2 separate regions of the Homo sapiens genome follow, and region 1 is linked to region 2. The links are contacts of gene promoters, found by promoter capture Hi-C in blood cells and fetal thymus (Javierre and others, 2016). All regions are on one chromosome and are shown on one strand. The core of a region is centred on a gene start or on the middle of the fragment in contact, and the rest is flanking DNA. Distances in the headings are between cores, read along the strand shown.

Region 1 (6,027 bases), core at 635-3,134, 340 kb before region 2:
TGGGACTTTTCCTTTTTAATATTAGGGTTTTCCTCCATCATCTACAAAAGTAGCATGTGTTCCCTGCAGAAAACTTGGAAAACGATGAATGACTGTAAAATATTCCATTTGCTACGTGAGTCGTCACTCACTTAACCATCCTCCTTATTTATTTATTTATTTTGAGACAGAGTTTCACTCTTGTCGCCCAGGCTGGAGTGCGACGGCGTGATCTTGGCTCACTGCAACCTCCGCCTCCTGAGTTCATGCGATTCTCCTGCCTCAGCCTCCTGAGTAGCTGGGATTACAGGAGTCCGCCACCATGCCCAGCTAATTTTTGTATTTTTAGTAGAGACGGAGTTTCGCCATGTTGGCCAGGCTGGTCTCAAACTCCTGACCTCAGGTGATCTGCCCACCTCAGCCTCCCAAAGTGCCAGGATTACAGGCATGAGCCACCGCACATGGCTCTTTTTTTTTTTTTTTGCTGTTATAAATATTCCTTTGATCATTGTCTGATTGTCTTATTACTTCCCCAAAGTAGATTCCTAGAGGAAAATATTACTAGGTTCAGGGAGATAAGAAACTCTTTAAGCTTCTTAATACCTACAGCTAAATGGTTGTCCAGAAACTCTATATTGACTTGTGGTTGCACCAGCAGGCCATGAGACTGCATTCCAGGACAATCTCAGCAACCCCTAAGCCTTAATAGTTTTTTTTTTTCTTTCTATGTTTGTTTGTCTAGATCTTTAACCCAAGAGATTAAAAATATGCTATCACTCGACTACGTTATTTGCGGATCTTTATATTACTGAGTGTGACTTCATTTTTCCTTTATTGGTTCTCTGTGATTCTCCAAAGAATTGTCCCCTCCTTGTCTTTTGTCTGTTTTTCCATGAATTTCTTGTGTTTTCCTTACTCCTGTGTTGTTTATTCATTAAGGATATTAACCTTTTATGTATCGTGCTATACAACTTACTCTTTTCCATTTGCCAGTAAGCTTTCTTTAAATGATTTGAAACAGGCTTTCATGTTTATTTGTACAATTTAATATATCAGTAACACTTTAAAACGTGTTCCTTTATAAGTCATTCTAGATGGGGTTATTATGAGTTGTGCTAAGGTTTTACGGCAATTTTGAAAGGGATCTTTTCCCTTATTTTATATTCTAATTATTGCTTGTGTATCTACAGTCTTTTTGCTTATTTCTATGTACCTACTTTCCCAAACTCTAACTCATTTAAAAAGTTTCATAATTGGCTTTCCTGGGTTTTCAATGACACACTAGAAGAGGGGTCAACAAAATTTTCCCGTAAAGGGCTAGATAATAAATATTTTGGGTTTTGCAAGCCAAATGACCTCTGTCACAACTACTCTGTCATTGTAGCTTAAAGCAGCCCTACATGATGTGTAAACAAGTGGGTGGGGTTGCATTCCAATAAGAGTTCATTTACAAAAACAGGCAGCTAGCCCATGGGCCATAGTTTGCCTACCCTTGAGCTAGACGCTCTGCAAATAGCAATGACTTTATTTCCCACATTCCATTCTTTACAACTCTGATTTCTGTTTCTTGTCTTATTACATTGGCTGGATGCCCAGAGAAATGTTAATTAGTAATGATGAGATGGGGCTTCCTTGTTTTGTTCCTAACTCTGCTAAGAATAATTTTAAGAATGATGTTAGCTTGGCTGTTGGTTTAACCTAGGTAATATTTATCTTGTAGAAGAAATATTCTATTATGAGTTTTATGAAGCCTCTTTTTTTCCTCCCCTTTCTCTAAGTTAGGAATTTTAAATTAAGGTTATTGAAACAGATATGATCTTCCTTATTGCACCTCTTGATGAACTAGATGATGTTATCAAATCTTCTGATCTTAAACCATCCTTGCATTTTGGAGATAAACAATATTGCCAGTGCAGTGTTTTATTTGGGACATTTGAATCTAACATCACATATTAGCTTGGCCTGTGGCTTTTGTTCAGTGCAGTATCTTTGTCAAGTTCTTTTTTTTTTTTTTTTTTTTTTGAGACAGAGTTTTGCTCTGTTGCCAGGCTGGAGTGTGCAATGGCGCAACCTCGGTTCACTGCAACCTCTGCCTCCCAGGTTCAAGCGATTCTCCTGGCTCAGCCTCCCAAGTAGCTGGGATTACAGGCGTGTGCCACCATGTCTGGCTAATTTTTGTATTGTTAGTAGAGACAGTGTTTCACCATGTTGACCAGAATGTTCTCAATCTCTTGACCTTGTGATCCGCCCCCCACCTCAGCCTCCCAAAGTACTGGGATTACAGGCATGAGCCACCATGCTCAACCTCTTTGTCAAGTTCTTTAAGGGTGTTATGTTCATTTCATAAAATGAACTGGGATAACTTTTATAGATTTCTGTGCCCTAAAATAGTTTTTCTATTATAGGAAATAGTTGCTCTCTCACAATTTGAAAGAACGTGTCTATAAAACTCTCTGGGCCAAGGGACTTTTTTGAGGAAATTATTTGACACATATCTTTTTCCAAGGTTCATAACCACTTAATTTTTCTGCTTCTTTTTGAATCCATTTAGACAAGTTAAATTTTCCCACCTTACTGAAACTTTCAAATTTAGCAAGTGCACCATTGTCCAAAGAACTTAACACATTAAAATTTTCTTCAGACGCTAGTTTTATGTCATCTTCTTTCCTTCTGGTTTGTGTTTTCCCTTTGATTATGTTTACCATAGGCTTAGCTGTTATTGCTTTTCCCTTCCTAACACATTTATAGTTTTATAGTTTAAAGTTTATTTCTTAATTTATCAATCCATTTAAGTCTGCTAAGTAACATCAAAGCCAAGCTTTGACAATATTCTACAAGTTAAGGTATGTGATATTCACATTTTCATTATTTTCCAAAAGGACTTCAATGGAAGTTTCCATTTCTGCTTTGGCCCGATAGATATGTAAGTGTTTAACTTTTTAACTTTTTTTTTTTTTAGACAGAGTCTCGCTCTGTTGCCCAGGCTGGAGGGCAGTGGCGTGATCTCGGCTCACTGCAACCTCCACCTCCCAGGTTCAAGTGATTCTTCTGCCTCAGTCTCCTGAGTAGCTGGGACTACAGGCGCACGTTACCACATCTGGCTAATTTTTGTATTTTTAGTAGAGAAGGGGTTTCACCATATTGGCCAGGCTGGTCTCAAACTCCTGACCTCAGGTGATCCGCCTGCCTGGGCCTCCCAAAGTGCTGCGATTACAGGTGTGAGTCACTGCGCCCAGCCTGTAAGTGTTTAACTTTTAACCACCAAGAAGTGAAGTTTTCTGTTTAATCTTTTGAAATTAACTTTTAGTTTCTATTGCAGCGTCATCAGAAAATGTGTGGTCAGAAAACAAATCCTACTTTGGGGGCATTTCTTAAGATTCTCTTTATGGTCTTTTTGTATTAAAAGACTAACAACATTGTAGAATGGAAAAGAAAACAGCTCCACCACTTATCAAGCCAAAGATATGTCCGTATTAGCAAGATTCAGATAATTTCTATACAGGCACAAATGGGTCTCGTGAAAATAACCAAGACGTTGGTGCTTCATGAGTAACTACTGAGAAATTGGTATCTCAACAACCAGAGATGTAAAATGGGCTCATCAAACAGGCCAAATGAGTTTATATACCAAAAAGATTATAACCAAAAAGACCATGAAGTGGCAAAAGACAAAGCATCAACTGATTTTTTTTTTTGAGACAGAGTCTTGCTCTGTTGCCCAGGCTGGAGTGCAGTGGTGTGATCTTGGCTCACTGTAACTTCCAATTTCTGGGTTCAAGCGATTCTCCTGCCTCAGCCTCCCAAGTAGCTGGGATTACAGGCGTGCATCATCATGCCCGGCTAATTTTTGTATTTTTAGTAGAGACGGGGTTTCGCCATGTTGCCCAGGCTGGTTTCAAACTCTTGACCTCAGGTGATCTGCCTGCCTGGGCCTCCCAAAGTGCTGGGATTACAGGCATCAGGCATGAGCCACAGCACCTGGCCTAGGCAGCATTTTATTATCCAGCAATCCCACACTAACCTGGTCATCTCAACCAAGGGTCCTTCTGACCCCATCACCCAGGGGGATATTTAGCAATGTCTGAAGATATTTTTGGTTATTACTACTTTAGGGGGAAGACACACTACTGGCATCAGATGAGTGGAAGCCAGGGATGCTTCTCAGTGTTGTTGGACAGTGCCCTAGAATAATCTGACCCCAAATATTATTTATTATTATTATTAGTATTATGTATTTATTCTTTTTTTTTTTTTTTTTTGAGACAGAGTCTCGCTCTGTCACCCAGGCTGGAATGCAGTGGCGAGATCTCGGCTCACCGCAACCTCCGCCTCCAGAAATCAAGTGATTCTCCTGCCTCGGCCTCCCAAGTAGCTGGGACTACAGGCGTGTGTCACCATGCCCGGCTAATTTTTATATTTCTTGTAGTAACGGGGTTTCACCATCTTGGTCAGGCTGGTCTCGAACTCCTGGCCTCAAGTGATTGCCCCGCCTGGGCCTCTCAAAGTGTTGGGATTACAGGCGTGAGCTACCAAGTCCAGCTGTGGCCCCAAATATTATTTTATTTTTATTTTTTTTGAGACGGAGTCTCGCTCTGTGGCCCAGGCTGGAGTGCAGTGGCACGATCTTGGCTCACTGCAAGCTCCGCGTCCCAGGTTCACGCCATTCTCCTGCCTCAGCCTCCCGAGTAGCTGGGACTACAGGCGTGTGTCACCACGCCCGGCTAATTTTTATGTTTCTTGTAGTAACGGGGTTTCACCATCTTGGTCAGGCTGGTCTCGAACTCCTGGCCTCAAGTGATTGCCCCGCCTGGGGTAGCTGCGTCACCACGCCCAGCTAATTTCTTGTATTTTTAGTAGTGACGGGGTTTCACCGTGTTAGCCAGGATGGTCTCGATCTTCTGATCTCATGATCCGCCCGCCTCGGCCTCCCAAAGTGCTGGGATTACAGGCGTGAGCCACCCGAATATTATTAATAGCAGGACTGAGATTGAGATCTGCTTTGGACCAAGCCCGTACATTTTTAGACCCTTCTTGGCTACAGTTAGTATTGCAAATGGCCACTAGAGGGCAGATCAGGCCACACAGGTGCCTGGGAAAAAATAAATAAATAAACACTCTGCTAAAGGAAGAAAATCTCTCCAAGTGGTCCCAACTTGCCTCTTTAGTCTCACCTCCTGTTCCTCCCAAAAGCCACGACAGGTAAACATCTCCTTGCCTTTCTCCCAAGTTCTCCAAGCTTTTTCTCTCTCCCAGGACCATACTGCTTCATTCTCTTAAGACTCAAGTTGAAAAGAAACGTCCCTGGCCAGGGGCGGTGGCTCACGCCTGTAATTCCAGCACTTTGGGAGGCCGAGGCGGGCGGATCGCCTGAGGTCGGGAGATCGAGACCAGCCTGACCAACATGGAGAAACCCTGTCTCTACTAAAAGTACAAAAATTAGCCGGGCGTGGTGGCGCATGCCTGTAATCCCAGCTACTCAGGAGGCTGAGGCAGGAGAATTGCTTGAACCCGGGAGGTGGAGGTTGTGGAGAGCCGAGATCGCACCACTGCACTCTAGCCTGGGCAACAAGAGTGAAATTCCATCCAAAAAAAAAAGAAGAAGGAAAGAAGGAAGGGAGGGAGGGACGGACGGAGGGAGAGAGGGAGGGAATAAAGAAAAGAAAAGAAAGAAGGAAAGAAAGAAAGAAGGAAAAAAAGAAAGAAGGAAGGAAGGAAGGAAGGAAGGAAGGAAGGAAGGAAGGAAGGAAGGAAGAGATCCCTGACTCTCCTCCGTGGAATTCAGTGAGCGACACGGTGTTCTTTTGTTCATACCCTGTCGCCCTTTCATGAAAATATTCTGTTTCCAGATCAACCTCCATTCATGGTGTAGGAGCTGCTGGGTCGGGGCACCCAGCCGCGGGGAGCTCAGACTCCGGGGACCCCCACCCACCTCTGCAAATGCACGCGGGAGGTGCAGAGATGTTTAGTGAGCAAACAGTGGCTGCAAACAGAAGGCAGGGAGGGGGTACCCAGGAAGCACTCCCATGATTCTATGTTTTAGCAAGAGTG
Region 2 (5,921 bases), core at 2,025-4,524:
GAGGGGCCAAAAAATTTTTTAAAAAATGTCCACTCAGGTCCGCACCCTACTCCCTAGAGCCCCACAAACCCTGTTACCTGTGCCCCCAGGCCATATTGCTTAGTGTAGACAAACATGGCCAGGTCATCAAAGAGTCGCAAGATGGTCCTGCAGTGGCTGAGTTGGGTGGACACCACCAACAGACGTGTCCCCACTTCGGACCTGGCGGGACACTGTTCAACCAGAACTCCACCAACCAGCTGGCAGCAGTACCCCAGCACTCGGATCTGTGGGAAACCAGAAGCAGTCAGTGTGGCCCTCCTGTTCTGCAGAACTGAGCTGCATCCCCCCATACCTGGCCCCGGGCCCCGCTGGATTGAGAGTGTGGAAGATTCTCTTTTTTTTTTGAAAGAGTCTCACTCTGTCATCCAGACTGGAGTGCAGTGGCACGATCTCGGCTCACCGCAGCCTCCATCTCCCATGTTCAAGCAATTCTTGTGCCTCAGCCTCCCCAGTAGCTGGGATTACAGGCGCCCACCACCACACCCTGCTAATTTTTATATTTTTTGTAGAGACAGGGTTTCACCAGGTTGGCTAGGCTGGTCTCAAACTCATAACCTCAGTGATCCACCTGCCTTAGCCTCCCAAAGTGCTGGGATTACAGGCATGAGCCACCGTGCCTGACCCAAGAGTTTGGAAGATTCTAAATCTACAAAGTGACAGTAAAAGCTGAAAGTTTAGGTGGGGCACAGTGGCTCACACCTGTAACCCCAGCACTTTGAGAAACCGAGGTGAGAGGATGCCTTCACACCAGGAGTTTGAGACCAGCCTGGGCAACATAGCAAGACCCTGTGTCTACCAAAAAAATTTTTTTTTTTGAGACGGAGTCTTGCTCCGTCACCTAGGCTGGAGTGCGGTGGCGCGATCTCGGCTCACTGCAAGCTCCACCTCCCGGGTTCATGCGATTCTCCTGCCTCAGCCTCCCGAGTAGCTGGGACTACAGGCACCCGCCACCAAGCCCACCTAATTTTTTGTATTTTTAGTAGAGATGGGGTTTCACCATTTTAGCCAGGATGGTCTTGATCTCCTGACCTCATGATCCACCCGCCTCGGCCTCCCAAAGTGCTGGGATTACAGGCGTAAGCCACCGCGCCTGGCTACCAAAAATTTTTTTAAGTTAACAGGGCATGGTGGTTACTTGGGAGGCTGATGCTGGAGGATCACTTGAGCCCAGGAGTTCCAGACTGTAGTGAGCTGTAATCGTGCTACTACACTCCAGCCTGGGCAACAGGGCGAGACCCTGTCTAAAAAAAGAAAAAGAAAAAGAAAAAAAAAGCTGGAAGTTTAAAAACATACTTGGAGGTGGGACAAATGAAGAAACATGACATCATTGATGTAACTGAAGGGCACAGCCTTTGGGAACAGATGTGACAGGAACAAAGAAAACAAAGCTCCTTACTTCCCACCTCCTAGGTCCTTCTTTTCCCAGGTGGCAGGAAGCCACAGCTAAAGTGTATATTTACATCTACCTGCCTGGACCAAAGCCTTTGGATGTGCTGAATGGTGGGCACAGGTGATCAGGCCTCAACCCAGTGAACAACAGGATAATTTGGTAGAATTACTTTAGAGAGAAAGAACCTACTCAGTAGGTGATGTGGAGCCTTCTGAAATAGGTCATCTTCACTACTCAGATCTTTTTTCTTTTGGAGACAGAGTCTTGCTCTGCTCCCCAGGCTCGAGTGCAAAGGTGTGAGCTCACTGCAACCTCTGCATCCCAGGTTCAAGCAATTCTCCCGCCTCAGCCTTCCAAGTAGCTGGGACTACAGGCACGCACCACCACATCCGGCTAATTTTTGTATTTTAGTAGAGACGAGGTTTCATCACTTTTCCCAGGCTGGTCTCAAACTCCTGAGCTCAGACAATCCACCCAGCTCAGCCTCCCAAAGTGCTAGGATCACAGGCGCGAGCCACCACGCCTGGCCTCCCTTATATCTTTATTTTACCTGCTTTTCAGAAATTGCTTGTTCCTGTTGTTTTATTTATTTTTACTTGTAATTCCTTTCCAGCCCCATTATAATGGCAAAACACTGCAATCTGAATGTTCAACTCGGGGGAGATTTGTTAACCCACCCCCCCAATCATAAGATATTTGAATGGAATCTAAATGCCTAGCCACCAGTACACCGCCTGGTACAACCTGAATGTCTACCTATAAGAGACTGGTGGGGACAAGCTAAGAGTCCAGACTCAGGGGCATGGATGGCATAACCTAAATGTTCAACCATATGGGACTTGATTGGAACTAAAAACTGTCCAGCCATAGGGAGAGTCTTGCAATATCCTAAATCCCCACATGAGATTGTTTGGGACAACCCAGGGACCAACTACAGTGGCCCGGTCAGATCCTAAATGTCCAAACATGGGAATCTGTTTGGTATGTAAACGTCCAGCCAGGCTGGGTTGGCAGAGACGATCTAAATGACCAACTGGGGTTTTGTTGGAACCCATCGCTGCTTAGGCATGGCAGGGCCCAGGCCATGGCGTGTTCTTTGGTCTAGGTTGGCTGAAACAACCTAAATGCCCAACTATAGGGAATCTGGTTGGAAGTGAATGTCCAGCCACAGGGGAGCCCTGCAACATCCCAAATCCCAACACGAGATTGTTCAGGACAACTTCAGTGGCCTGGTCGGATCCAAAACGTCCAAACACGGGAATCTGGCCAGTGTGTCAATGTCCAGACAGGTTGGGTTGGCAGAAACTATCTAAATGTCCAACGCTGGCCAGACGCGGTGGCTCACGCCTGTAATCCCAGCACTTTGGGAGGCCGAGGCAGGTGGATCGCTTGAGGCCAGGAGATCGAGACCATCCTGGCTAACACGATGAAACTCCGTCTCTACTAAAAATACAAAAAAATAGCAGGGAGTGGTGGCGGGCGCCTGTAGTCCCAGCTACTCGGGAGTGCTGAGGCAGGAGAATCGCTTGAACCCGGGAAGCGGAGGCTGCAGTGAGCAGAGATCGCACCACTGCACTCCAGCCAAAATAAATAAATACATAAATGTCCAATGCTAGGGCACCGCATTTGAGCCTAGCTCGGACGGGGCCTCTGCGACGGAGTATCCTGGGCGACCCCGTCCCCTCTCTGGCCCGTTTCCCAGTCTCTGAGCTTGGGCCAAACTCTAGGACCTCCGGCCCCGGTCCGCCCCTGCCTCACCAGGCGGTCCCGGCCCCTGTACGACTCCAGCGCCGACGCCAGGCCGCTCAGCGACGCCATGGCAACTCCGTGACGTCACCGCGACGTCGGCGCGCCGCGCCAGGGGGCGGGGCCAGGCCGGGGTACCGGGAGCGCCCCAAAGGCTTGCGCGCAGGCGCGGCCGCAGGCCTTTGTCCCCCTGACCGGCTTTTTGTCCGCTGTAGGGGAGGGACAGAGTTTGCAGAGGTGGGGCCGACACGTGTGTGCTCTCCAGGCCTGCAGACCCTGGATCATCCTCGGAGTTTGCTGCATTCTGCCCCACGGCGGTTTGGCCAACTACCCACGCACAAAAAAATATATTTCTAAGTTTAACCAACTACCCACACGCTCCAAAAATATTCCAAGCAAAACCACCAACCTGTTCGCAGTGGTTCAAGGAGAGATTTTCCTTTTTAGTTTTTGTGCTTCACCTTTTCTGCACTGTCTGCCTGCCCGTAGTGAGCAGGAATGACTGCTGTAATATCACAACAAGGCATCTTTCGACGTTAAGGAAAGACGTTATCTTTGGACGTTAAGAATTGTTCTAGAATACATAAATAAAAAATAAAAATGCACAATTCAGTGACATTAGTACATGCACATGTTGGACAACCATCACCCCTTGCTAGTTTCGGGGTATTTTTATCACCCCCAAGAGAGACCCCCGTAGGAGACCAGCATATGCCCCTCTGAAATATGCGACCTTGGTGTAGGATTATTTTGAGCTGAGATCAATGAAGCTGATACCGGAAAAGCTCTCTGTTCTTCCCTGATTTGCCTCAAAGCAGGACCTAAAGGTACAAAGGTGCCCTCCTCCCCTCTCTACCAGGAAGGACAAAGGTTGATCACCAGGGACACCTTTAGACTCTTGTCTGGAGACGTCTTTTTTTTTTTTTTCTTTTTTTTTGAGACGGAGTCTTGCTCTGTCCCCAAAGCTAGAGTGCAGTAGCGCCATCTCTGCTCACTGCGTCCTCCGCTTCCCTGGTTCAAGCGATTCTCGTGCCTCAGCTTCCCAAGTAGCTGGGATCACAGCTGTGCACCACTGTGCCCGGCTAATTTTTGTATTTTTGGTAGAGTCGGGGTTTCACCACGTTGGCCAGGCTGTTCTCAAATTCCTGGCCTCAAGTGATCCGCCCGCCTCGGCCTCCCAAAGTGCTGGGATTACAAGCGTGAGCCACCGCACCCGGCCTCAATGTCCTTTTCCTTCGTCTTGTCACTTCTCCAAAAATTTGCTGCTATATGTTGAAGGTGCTATATAAGCAGGAGTTATATAAGCTATATAAGCCACCTCATTTCTCTTGGCATCTCCCATGTACACATAAGGTACACATGTTAATAAATTTGTTTTTCCCTTGTTAATTTTTTTTTTTTAGACGGAGCCTCGCTCTGTCGCCCAGGCTGGAGTGCAGTGGCACGATCTCGGCTCACTGCAAGCTCCGCCTCGCGGGTTCACGCCATTCTTCTGCCTCAGCCTCCCGAGTAGCTGGCACTACTACAGGCGCCCGCCACCACGCCTGGGTAATTTTTTTTTTTTTTTTTTTTTTGTATTTTTAGTAGAGACGGGGTTTCACCGTGTTAGCCAGGATGGTCTTGATCTCCTGACCTCGTGATCCGCCCGTCTCTGCCTCCCAAAGTGCTAGGATTACAGGCGTGAGCCACCGCGCCTGGCCTCTATTTTTTTTTTTTTTTTTTTTTTTTTTTTTTGAGACAGGGCCTCGCTCTGGGAGGAACCAAATTTGTAGATGTGAAGCCGCCACTTGTGTGCTCTCTGGGCCTGAGGACCCAGGATGATGCCCAGAGCTTGCTACATTCTGCCCCATGGTAGCTTGACCAACTACCCACAAAAAAGGGGTAGAGTGCAGCGGCACGATCTTAACTCACTGCAGCCTTGAACTCCTGGGATCAAGCCATCCTGCCACCTCAGCATCCTGAGTAGGTGGGACCACAGGTGCCTGCCACCACAATTGGCTAATTTCTTTTTATTTTTTATTTTTTGTAGAAATGGAGTCTTACCATGTTACCCAGGCTGGCCTTGAGCCCTGGGCTTAAGCAATCTTCCCACGTCGACCTTCCAAAGTGCTGGAATTACAGGCGTGAACCACCGCACCCGCCCTTCTTAATTCTTTCATTGCAAGGATCCATCACAGCTAAGAACTAAGAATAAAGGAAAAAGTATGTTTCCTCCCCTACACCCTGTTCCCATAAAGCAATCACTCAATTCCTCCCTCCTCCCAGCCCCTGGCAACCACTAATCTGCATTCTCTGCTGTCTCTCTGTATTTTTACCACTTCTTGATTTTTTTTTTTTTTTTTTTTTTTTGAGACAGAGTCTCACTCTGTCACCCAGACTGGAGTGCAGTGGCATGATCTCAGCTCACGGCAGCCTCCGCCTCCCAAGTTCAAGCAATTCTCCTGCCTCGGCCTCCCAAGTGGCTGAGAGTACAGGTGCGCACCACCACACCCGGCTAATTTTTGTATTTGTAGTAGAGATGGATTTTACCATGTTGGCCAGGCTGGTCTTGAACTCTTGACCTCAAGGGATCTGCCTGCCTCGACCTCCCAAAGTGCTGGGATTACAGGCATGAGCCACCATGCCCGACCTCCTTGATATTTCATACAAATGGAATCATACAATATGTGACCATTTGTGTCGGCCTCTTCCACCAAGCATAATAGGTTGTTTTGGTTTTTGCTTTTTGTTTTTGAGACAGGGT

What was found. The method cuts DNA at HindIII sites, captures the fragments that hold promoters and counts their contacts. A CHiCAGO score of 5 or more calls a contact.
Region 1: a contact is called between a fragment that was not itself captured here and the fragment with the promoter of PEX11G in region 2, in 10 of 17 cell types (megakaryocytes, naive CD4 T cells, naive B cells and 7 more). The highest score is 6.4, in megakaryocytes.

What each region holds. Positions count from the first base shown.
Region 1 is chr19:7,144,258-7,150,284 of GRCh38, forward strand. The region is part of intron 11 of INSR (insulin receptor); the gene reads right to left. Among named protein-coding and RNA genes, the nearest start is that of ZNF557, 78 kb to the left of the region's middle. The HindIII fragment of the contact is 1,821 bases long and covers 975-2,795 here.
Region 2 is chr19:7,485,761-7,491,681 of GRCh38, forward strand. PEX11G (peroxisomal biogenesis factor 11 gamma) reads right to left here and starts at 3,275. Exons shown (of 5, transcript NM_080662.4): 1 at 3,191-3,275; 2 at 78-266. The coding sequence starts at 3,250. RefSeq lists silencers at 3,022-3,081, 3,132-3,461. The HindIII fragment of the contact is 16,201 bases long and covers 1-5,921 here.